3 separate regions of the Homo sapiens genome follow, and regions 1 and 2 are each linked to region 3. Evidence: promoter capture Hi-C in human tissues and cell types (Jung and others, 2019). All regions are on one chromosome and are shown on one strand. The core of a region is centred on a gene start or on the middle of the fragment in contact, and the rest is flanking DNA. Distances in the headings are between cores, read along the strand shown. Region 1 overlaps IQSEC1 (IQ motif and Sec7 domain ArfGEF 1). Region 2 overlaps SYN2 (synapsin II). Region 3 holds the start of RAF1 (Raf-1 proto-oncogene, serine/threonine kinase).

Region 1 (3,557 bases), core at 925-3,424, 330 kb after region 3:
ACTCTCCTACCAGAGGCCAGATTCAGACTCCCTGACCAGCACAAAGGCAGCTCCAGCTTGCACAGCCCAGTGATGGGCAGCTTCCTACAAGAACAAAGGATGGCTGTATTCTTGGCTGGGGACACTTAGGTGCTTAGGTCCACCCCTTATACCAATGGCTGAAACTGTGTGCAGGAAAGCTGAGGACACAAATGGTCGCAGTTCTTCTGGTGTGGCCTCAGCACTCCCCTCTGGACAATGGGGGAAGGGAGCATGACTAAAACCAAGGGTGGTGGTGTGGGGACAGCAGGCATGGGACAGGCAGGGCAGGGCAGGTTGGTCAGAGCAGCGGCTGGAAGGGCGGGCTGCCATGGGCCCTTTAAGCAGCCTTGAAAGAGAGTGGCAACTCCAGTCATGAGACCCAAGATTACCTAATGTTTGCAAACCGTGCAGGAGACAGTCCCCTGCAGAGGTGAGCACAGGCCCCCTCCCTTGTCCCTCCACTGCAGAGACCTCTGAGGGGACACCGAGTCCTCCGAGCATTCCCCAGGAAGCAGCCCTCTCAGGATGACTGGGTTGCTGGAGAGCTGGGGACAGGGCCCCTCGGCTCTGAATACGCTGTGTGACCTTGGACATGTCCCTGCCTCTCTCTGGCCTCAGTTCTCCATCTCTAACACAGTAGGGTGGCTCCGGGATGCTCCCTCCGGCACTGATGCTTAATGGCTGGGCTGTGGGCATTGTGGCCACCCCAAGTCACCTCTCAGTTTATCTTTTCCTGTGGGGGGTGGGGGGTGGGAGGAGATGGCACCGCTAAGGCAATTTCTCTTCTTTCCCCTTAAATCTGGTTTCTGGGCTCTAATTGCACATGGCTTCAGCAGCCTGGCCATCTTGCCAACTGTAATGAGGAGGTGGGCATCATACTGGGGGCAGGGGAGGGTGACGAGAAAGCTATTCCTGTGTCACCTTAATTCAGAATTGTTCAGAGGGGGCTGCACAGGCCAATGTGTCCACTGCCTGGTGGAGCCTGACCACAAAATGAAACGGTGGCTCATCAAAGTGCACAACCAGACCCCTGCTCCCAGTCTAGGACAGGTCCCTCACCACCACAGATCACTGGGCATGCTCAGAGCAACACTCACAAAGCTGACCAGGCAGAGCCGACTGCTGTCCTTGTGAGCCTCATCTCCTGGACAAGGCCAGGGGGAGGGGACACCCACTGTCACCTTTCTGCTCCCTTTGCTCCAGGAACAGATCAGCTGTGACAGTTGAGAGCTTGGCAATTTAAAGTGACAACTGCCTGGCAGAAACATGGGAGGGGAAGTTCCCCAGGACTATTAGGGGTGGGGAGAAGCTTGACTCACCTCTGCCAACCCACCCTGCCTGCTTAGAGCCCAAGGGCAGGTGGTTTTGTAGCGGGAGGTTGCGGTGGGGGCGGGGGTCCCACACTCTAAGACCCTGGCCCAGGAGTGTCTCATCCTCAGGCTGGCAGGTGGGACAGGTTTCCAACAACAGCCCCCATTACACCTCATCCCCCTGCTGCCACCTGCCCCCTATGGGTCAGGGTCCAGAGGTCGCCAAGGCTGTTCTGGTCCCCAAGACTGCTCCCTAAGCCAACTCTCCTGGAGGTCTACCGGGAGAGCTCCCTCCACCCCAAGACTGAGAACCAGTCTCTTCCCCACGTGGTAATGGCAGGAGGGGCTGCCCAAGGTCACACGGGGTTGGGAGGCAGGGACAGGGCCAGGTTGGACCCAGCCCTCCAGCCCTGCCAAAGCTTCTCCCTCCCTCCCAAGGCGCGTCCGTGTGGCTCCCAGCGAATTCCTGAGATGCCTCAACCTCCCGCTCGCAGGCTCGGGACCCTGGACGCGGTGGCGGGATTTCTCCGCCCGGAGGCAGCAGCGGTGGTGGAGGCGGGGTGGGGGTGGGGAAGAGAAGCAGGGTAGTGCGGAGTCGGGGGGTGGGGAATGCTTTGCATGGCGACCCTCGGGGTCTGGATTCACGTACCCCCGCTTCGGGGAGGCAACCAACTGCACTGATGAAGAGATGGAGCACCCCGCCCCTCCCCGACCCCCAATATCGCGCCTTTAGCGTTCGCAAGGCTTCGGGATAAGCCGTCTGCATAGCCGCGGAGGTTGGGGCTTCTGCGTCCTCACCGCTCCAGTCCCAGAGAGCGACACCGCAGAGCCCAGCTCAGAAAGACTGGCGCTGGCGCGCCCCGGCCCCCATTCCCGTGAGCTTGGCGGCCGCTGATCCCCAACCCCACAACCCTGCGGCCGGTGCGGGCTTAGCAACTGCGGCCTCGCAACCTCCTTCCGAGACCCGCTCCGCGAAGCCCGCCGCGATCCCCGCGCGCCCCAGGTTCCCGAGAGCCAACTGCGTGTCGGTGCAACCGCGGCCCCGGGGGCGGAGCTGCCGCCCAGGCCGCCCCGCGGAGGGCATTCCCGGCTGCAGCCCCAGCGACCCCCGCCCGGGGCCCCGCACCGCACCGGTCGCCGGGCGCGTCCCCCGCCGGCCCGCCTCCTACCTCGCGGGTCCGCCCGCAGCCGCCGAGAGCGCGCCGTCCCCGCGGCCGGCGCGGCCCCAGAGCGTCCGGTGGCCGGGCGCGGGGGGGCGGGGGCGGGCGCTCGGGAGCCGGAGCCGGAGCCCGAGCCCGATACCAGCGCCACCGGCGGGGCGGCCTCCCCGCGCGCCGCCCTCCTGCCCGCCCCACCGCCCGTGCGCCGTGACCTTGGCGGGTGGCCTCGCCGCGCCTGGCCTCAGTTTCCCCCCTCGGAAGGTGTGTGTGCGTGCGCGGCTGTGCTAGGGGGCGGGGAGGACGGTGCCGCCCCGGCCGCCGACGTCACCCGAGCCTGGACGAGTGGAGGGCGCTCAGGTCGGTGCAGCCGCTGCAGCGGATGGGTCAGGAGAGCGGGGTACGCGGGGTCCAGGCGCGGAACCGGGGGCACTGCGACCCCCGGCATTTCCCTCAGACTACCCCAGACCCCCAATAAACAGCGAACAAACGCACCTCAGGCCAAGTCCCCCGGCTCCTCCGAGGGAAAGCTGCAGCCCCGGCCGAAACGCCCCACCCCCGCCGCCGTCCCCAGTTCGCAGATGGGAACACTGAGGCCCACAGCAGGGAAGCCACTGGCCCAGAGGCGCACAGCTGCACCACGCTCCTCCGCGTCCCCTCCAGGACACACCCTCCTGACTGTTTGGGGACGGGGTGGGGACCTGGGCCTGCCGGTGCCGCCCCCATCCCTCAGCCGACCTCGATTTAGATGCTGGGACGGGCCCTGGTGGCCTGGCGACTGTTACAGAGAATGGGGTGGGCACAATCGGAAGGGAGCCCAAAGACGGGGAAGAAGTGGCGCAGATAGCAGAGGCTGGGCCTGGAAGGGATATGGGCGGGAGCGCGCCCGCGGGGGTGCACCTAAGGAGAAAGCGAGGACGCGCGAGTGCCCTCCCTGGTGGGTCGCAGAGCAGACCTGCCCCGGAAGCCCTGAACGCCGGGCCGGGAGCGGCGGCCTCTCTCCCGCAGCCGGAACCCCGCCGGTCTGGAGCGAGGGCGTCAGGTGGCGGGCTGCGATTGGGACGAGGCG
Region 2 (3,069 bases), core at 186-2,685, 480 kb before region 3:
ATATCTCTACGTAAGGAAAATCCTTGCATTCCTCCCTTAACAAGTGGTGGACCTACCAACCTGGAGGAGTCTTGAGCTTCACCAGCTCTCTCCTTCCTCCCTGGCTTCTCTGATCACTAAGCCCAGTAGATTCAGCGTAGCAGGATACCAGCCCAATTAGCTTTGATGGAAGCGGCACACTCTCCTTGCCAAGCTCCTGAAAGCCTATACCTGCAAGACATCTCTGCACAGGTCCAATAACCCTAGGGGTCTTGCTGAGTTTAAGACTCTGTAGCTGGTCCAGGCTGGTCTGGAACTCTGTAGCTAAGAAGGGATTGTCTCAGTTCTCACACACCGGAAGAACTGAAAGAAAAAAAAAAAAAAAAAAAAAAAGCATAAACGAATTCATGGAAGCCTAGAGCCAGAAGGGCCTGTAGAAGTCATGTGCCTGCAGCTACATGAGCCCCCCTAACCAAAGTTTGTCCAAGCACTGCTGAAATACCTCTCATGCCAGGAAGCTCACTACTACCCAAGCCAGCCCTTGACACTATTCAGATTTATATTTGACTAATTTCAATCTTCTACTAAGCCCTAGGTGCTTCCATGGTTACCTCATTTATACCATTTGGGAAACTGTGACTCAGGATAAGTAACTTGCCCAAAGTCACATGTGTAAAGTTGTCATTTCGAGACTTCTAACCATCCTATTTGCTCCATGTACCCATGTTTTTCTGCTAGCATCACCCTTAAGAGGTGGCCAGAACTGGTTGCAGTGCTCTCTCATGAGGCTTGATCAGCCAAAAGAACAGTGGTCCTATCACTTCCCCTTGTCAAGACATAGACATACCTCCAGCTGCATCCAATTTTTGGCAGCATCATTACAGACTGACACCCTTTGAGCCTGTCGTCACTCTGTAAACCCAAAGTTGGTTGGGGTTTATTATTTATTTATATATTTTTTTGAGACGGGGTCTCACTCTGTTGCCTAGGCTGGAATGCAGTGGCGTGATCCTGGCTCACTGCAGCATCCACCTCCCAGGCTCAAGCTATCCTCTTGCCACAGCCCTCTGGGTAGCTGGGACTATAAGCACATGCCACCATGCCCACCTAATTTTTGTATTTTTTGTAGAGACAGCGTTTCATCATGTTATCCAGGCTGGTCTCAAACTCCTGGGCTCAAGTGATCCACGCACCTCGGCCTCCCACAGTGTTGGGATTACAGGCGTGAGCCGCACCCAGCTGGGTTTTTTTTTTTTTATGCTACTATAAGGTCATTTATTCCCCTTCCGTTTTGTGTACAGCTAGGCACAAGCACTGCACTTCACATTCTTACCTGTTTGAATCAATCCAACTTCCTGAGGAAAGCTCTGCCTCTCAGTCTGGCCATGAGTTCCTGCTGTGGGCTGGCTCCAGGCCAGCCTTTGGCAGTGACGCCAGAGTGGCCAGACTTCTGTGGAATTCGGCATCCCAGGATGCTCTGGGTGACTGGAAACAGATCCCATGGTAGCCAAGCCCCACAGGGAATAGGCCCGGAGCCCCTAGTAGACAGCAGGCTTGTAGGTGGAGCCAGGGTGTCTCAGCCTGGCAAGGGACAGTCCTTGGGAATTCTCCTCCCCGCCTCCCGTAGCCCCTGAGAAGTCTTCCATACACAATCTCAGTGGAGCCGGGGCCAAGAGAAGCTTCCTAGGCGCCATCAAGGGTGGCCAAAGCATATTCCCAGGCTGCAGCCCAAAGGACTGCCTCCGGGAGCTCTTCCTCTCAAGCCTGGAAAAGGGCACTTCTGGGCTTAGTTCATCCGTGGGTGTCTTACATGTATATTCCTATGGCTGAGGAAAGACAAGGCCAGCCTACATGGTGTGATCACCCCTGTGAGCTCATCCTGTGTCTGGAGTTCTACCATTAAAGCTTAATCTATGGGATTTAAAACGTTTTCTTGGAATCATAGTTTCACTGGATTGGAAGGAACCTTAGCATTCATCCAGTCAATCTCATGTTTAAAAAAGGAATATTATCTATGATGTCTTTGTCAGGTCATTCACTACCCACTATGTGAACACATACGTCTACCTCCCAAAACAGCCTATCTCACTATTTTTACAAAAGAAAGTTCTACTTGTAGGTGAAAGTCTGCCCAGAGCTTTTGTGCCCACTGGCCCTGGTTCTGCTCTTATGCCACATAGTCTTCTGTAACCCTCTCTGGGAATACCAATTCTCTGGGAGGAGAACATCGTAAGCTGCTCTTGGCCAACATTTGAGATGATGCATTGGGACCCTTCAGTGGTACTGGGCATGAGGCCCTGGGGGAGAGACCAGCGAGAGCCAGTCCGGTAGCTTCACAAACTGGGACTTTTTCTGTCCTTCACCTAAGTATCTGTCTCTGACCATGAGAGGCTGTGGTGTTGAAGGCATGGGCCAGACTAGAGAATGAACAGTAGAGGATCAGGCCTGGACTGAGCAGCTGTTTATGACATAAAGGAGGGAGAAGGCTAGAAAGGGCAAGCCCAGCCATGCTGAAGCAACCAGGAGTGCTGATGATACCTCATACGGTACTGTGAGGTACAGGGAGATAGTGCACAATAGTGCATCCATGTTACTTGGAACACAGTAAGCACGCCATAAATGTCAGCTCTAGGTGATTTAGAGAAGTTAAGAGACACAACTAGAAAAAAGGTTTAGGAGGTTAATAGGTAGCCCCAGAGAAGATAGATTGGAAAGAAAAAGATGAAAGAATTAGGAGACTATTCTAGCAAGAAATGATAAAGGCCTGACCAAAGTTAGTCCAGGGAAGATGGTGACTCAGATACCAGGAGGGAAAAGTGGAGGAGTCCTGAAGGCTGATGGGATGGAGTGGTTTCCAGCTGGCTTCCCGGGTATGGGTATTGCAGTGTCAGGCTCAGACTGTGCCTTATGGATCCCAAGAAGGTCCCCAGAGGAAGGGAAAGGAAGTAGTGTTCTCACTGTGACTTGTGGGGGTTGAGGGTTATGGTAGAATGGGCACTCTGATGTGGTGGCACTGAGGACATTTCAAAGGCCCCCCTCCCAGCTGCTCTCCCAAATCCTCTCAGTAGAACAGTTCCGAGTAATGAGGTT
Region 3 (3,093 bases), core at 216-2,715:
ACTCCCACATGGCTCTAAGCCTTTGTACCAGCTGTTCCCTGAGCTCCTCCTCACCCGATGAGCACTTACTCACAGGTGTTTCAAAACTCGACTCAGAAGTCTCCTCGAGTGTAGAAGCTTCCTCAACTCCTCCCCAAGCAAAACTAACTGTTCTAAATCCCCATAACACTTGATAAGCCAATTCTTATCACACTGCATTGTTTTCACGCCTTAGGAGCGCAGGGAGGGCAGAGTCTCTCCACTCAGCCCACAGAGGACCAGGCAAGCAGAAACGCTCAATGAACGTGCCTTGAATTCATTTTCCACTTAGATTAAGTGACCCCCTAGAACCCGTTCACATCTCAAGGATACACTAAGTTCCATTCCTTCTTCCCACCACAGAATGAATACCAGGGGCACACCCAGAGCCCTAGAACGAGAACAATGAATGAACACGGCCGCCTCGCCTCTCACGACGTCCAAACCCCTCTCTCTTGGGCATCGACTCGCTCGCAGAGCCTCAGCAGCTGCAGAGCTGAAGCGTCCCGGCGGCTCTCGCGTCACACAAAAGACAGCCCTGGCTCTTCATTCCAAAGCGTCCTGAGGCCAATCCTCTATAAGTATCCCAAACCTTTCATTAATAACCCAGAGTCCTGATACCCAAGGCTAGTCCTGATACCCAAGAAGAGGCCCCTGTGCCTTTGTGGTAGGGCACTGGCCAGTTTCCTCCTCTCTTACCCGATTCCTCACGTCGTCTCTAAAAGGGTGTCACTTGACTGAAGTACCCTGAGAAAGGGTGCAAGCCCGGGTCCCACATTCGGCGGCCCAAGAGAAAAGGAATTGGCCCATCCAAGTGACAACAGATATGGGGCAGCTCTGGGCGGATTTTCCCACTGCCAAATATGAGGAATGCGCATGGCATAAGGGTGGCGTTGGCACGTTTCCGCCAAACACAAGGAAATTTGAGTGGGATGTGGGAACTCGGCTCGCCGGCCATGACACCGGACTCCGGGGCCCCCGCCCAACGCTACCCCAGGGTGACAACGGCCTGGCCCAAGCCCTCTGCCCGGCAGCCGCGGGGCCGCTCCATCAGCGCCACCCAGGCCCGGTCGCCCTGGAAGCCGATCCCTCAGCCCCGCCGCCCGGCTCCCCCGGCATCCACGACCCGGTCCTGCCACCTACCTGAGGGAGCCAGGCCGCCCCAACGTCCTGTCGTTCGGCGGCAGCTTCTCGCCCGCTCCTCCTCCCCGCGGCGGGTGAGGGAGCGGGAGGCGGTCACATTCGGCGCGTCCCCAGCCCAGGGGACGGAGCCCCGAGCAGCCCCCGCATCGTAGCAAACGCGCTCCGCGCCTCAGGGCACGCGCCCCAAAGCCCGGCCAGCTGACCCTTTTCGGGGCCCAAAAAAGGCAGCAGAAAGCCGTTCCCGCCTCACAATCGTTTTCCTCTTACTCCCGCCATCTAAGATGGCGGCCCAAGCGCCCGCGATTAAGACTCTCGGGCGGCCCAGACGAGCGAGCCCTCGACTCGGTGCTCGTCCTCCCGACCTGCGACGCCACCGGCTCTCCGATTCTGCGCGAGCCCTACTGGCAGTCGACTTCTAACTTGGCTCGGGCATCCATCGCTCTGGCCTGAACTCAGGCCCCGCCCCCGGGGCGTGGCCTAGCGATCTGGTGGCCGCCATTTCGAAGCTGAAGAGGTTAGGCGACGCTGACTTGCTTTCAGGAGAGGCACTCGGTAATCGAGAAGAACCGGCTTTCGGCCAGCCAGGAGTGGCCAGAGGCCTAGAAGGGGAGAGGAAGGCCTGCCTGCCCAGCATTGCAAGGCCCAGCGATCACCAGACGTGCCTCAGGACACAGGGCACAGTGTCCAACTTTGACGCGTCCTCTCCGGGCACTTTAATACCAAATCACGGCTCCGCCACTTGACAGCTATGTGGACAGTCCCTGAACCTTAAACGGTCTTTTCCTTGTGTGTAAATTCCGAGTTCATTTTTCCCCCATCACATTAGCAACAAGTTAAAAAAACTGATAATATCCGGTTTGGTCCAAGGTATATTGAAACCTGTTGTGTGCCCTCGCAGCGCTATCACAGTGGAACTTGGACATGTTAAAAGTATATATCCTTCCTCCCGGCAGTTTCACTTCTAGACACTAATTCTAGAGAAATAAGTATACACATACACAAAAAGCTATGTGTGAAGATATTTAATGCCATATTATTTGCATTCTGGAGAAACACTGGGGATGAAATGAAGATTAATAGGAAACTGGTTAAGAGAACGCTGCTACACATCCAATCTGGGTTGTCATCCATCCAAGAATGAACTAGATAGTTACTGAATTTAAAAAACAACAAAAAAAGGGCCCGGCGCTTTTTTTGGGATTACTCCTGTAATCCCAGCACTTTGGAAGGCCGAGGCAGGCGGATCACCTGAGGTCGGGAGTTCGAGACCAGCCTGACCAACATGGAGAAACCCCGTCTCTACTAAAAATACAAAAATTAGCCGGGCGTGGTGGCGGGCGCCTGTAATCCCAGCTACTCAGGAGGCTGAGACAGGAGAATCGCTTGAACCCGGGAGGCAGAGGTTGCAGTGAGCCCAGATCGCACCATTACACTCCAGCCTGGGCGACAGAGCGAGACTCCGTCTCGAAAAAATAAATAAATATAAAAAAATAAAAATACCAAATTAGCTGGGCATGGTGGTGCATGCCTGTCATCCCATCTACTCGGGAGGCTAAGGCAGGAGAATTGCTTGTACCCAGGAGGCGGAGATTGCGGTGAGCCGAAATCGCGTCATTGCACTCCAGCCTGGGCAACAAGAGCGAAACTCTTGTCTCAAAAAAAAAAAAAAAAAAGACATGGCTGGGCGTGGTGGCTCACGCCTGTAATCCCAGCACTTTGGGAGGCCGAGGCGGGCAGATCACTTGAGGTCATGAGTTTGAGACCAGCCTGGCCAACATGGTGAAACCTGTCTCTGCTAAAAAATACAAAACAAATAGGCCGGGTGCGGTGGCTCACACATGTAATCCCAGCACTTTGGGAGGCCGAGGCGGGCAGATCACGAAGTCAGGAGATCGAGACCATCCTGGCTAACACAGTAAAACCCCGTCTCTA

The links. Contacts are between HindIII fragments. The study calls those that stand out against the background at their distance.
Region 1: a fragment that was not itself captured here is called in contact with the fragment with the promoter of RAF1 in region 3 in 1 of the 25 tissues and cell types used here (spleen).
Region 2: a fragment that was not itself captured here is called in contact with the fragment with the promoter of RAF1 in region 3 in 1 of the 25 tissues and cell types used here (bladder).

The regions. Positions count from the first base shown.
Region 1 is chr3:12,991,581-12,995,137 of GRCh38, forward strand. All of the region lies in intron 1 of IQSEC1 (IQ motif and Sec7 domain ArfGEF 1), which reads right to left. Among named protein-coding and RNA genes, the nearest start is that of IQSEC1, 80 kb to the right of the region's middle. RefSeq lists enhancers at 349-643, 2,043-2,601, 3,040-3,109, 3,161-3,557 and silencers at 349-643, 2,520-2,679, 2,700-2,749, 3,400-3,557. The HindIII fragment of the contact is 4,757 bases long and covers 1-3,557 here.
Region 2 is chr3:12,179,026-12,182,094 of GRCh38, forward strand. The region is part of intron 10 of SYN2 (synapsin II); the gene reads left to right. Among named protein-coding and RNA genes, the nearest start is that of TIMP4, 22 kb to the left of the region's middle. RefSeq lists an enhancer at 1-325. The HindIII fragment of the contact is 3,004 bases long and covers 1-2,937 here.
Region 3 is chr3:12,662,652-12,665,744 of GRCh38, forward strand. RAF1 (Raf-1 proto-oncogene, serine/threonine kinase) reads right to left here and starts at 1,466. Exons shown (of 17, transcript NM_002880.4): 1 at 1,162-1,466. RefSeq lists enhancers at 548-1,158, 1,159-1,770, 1,382-1,731, 1,772-1,841 and a silencer at 972-1,191. The HindIII fragment of the contact is 15,309 bases long and covers 1-3,093 here.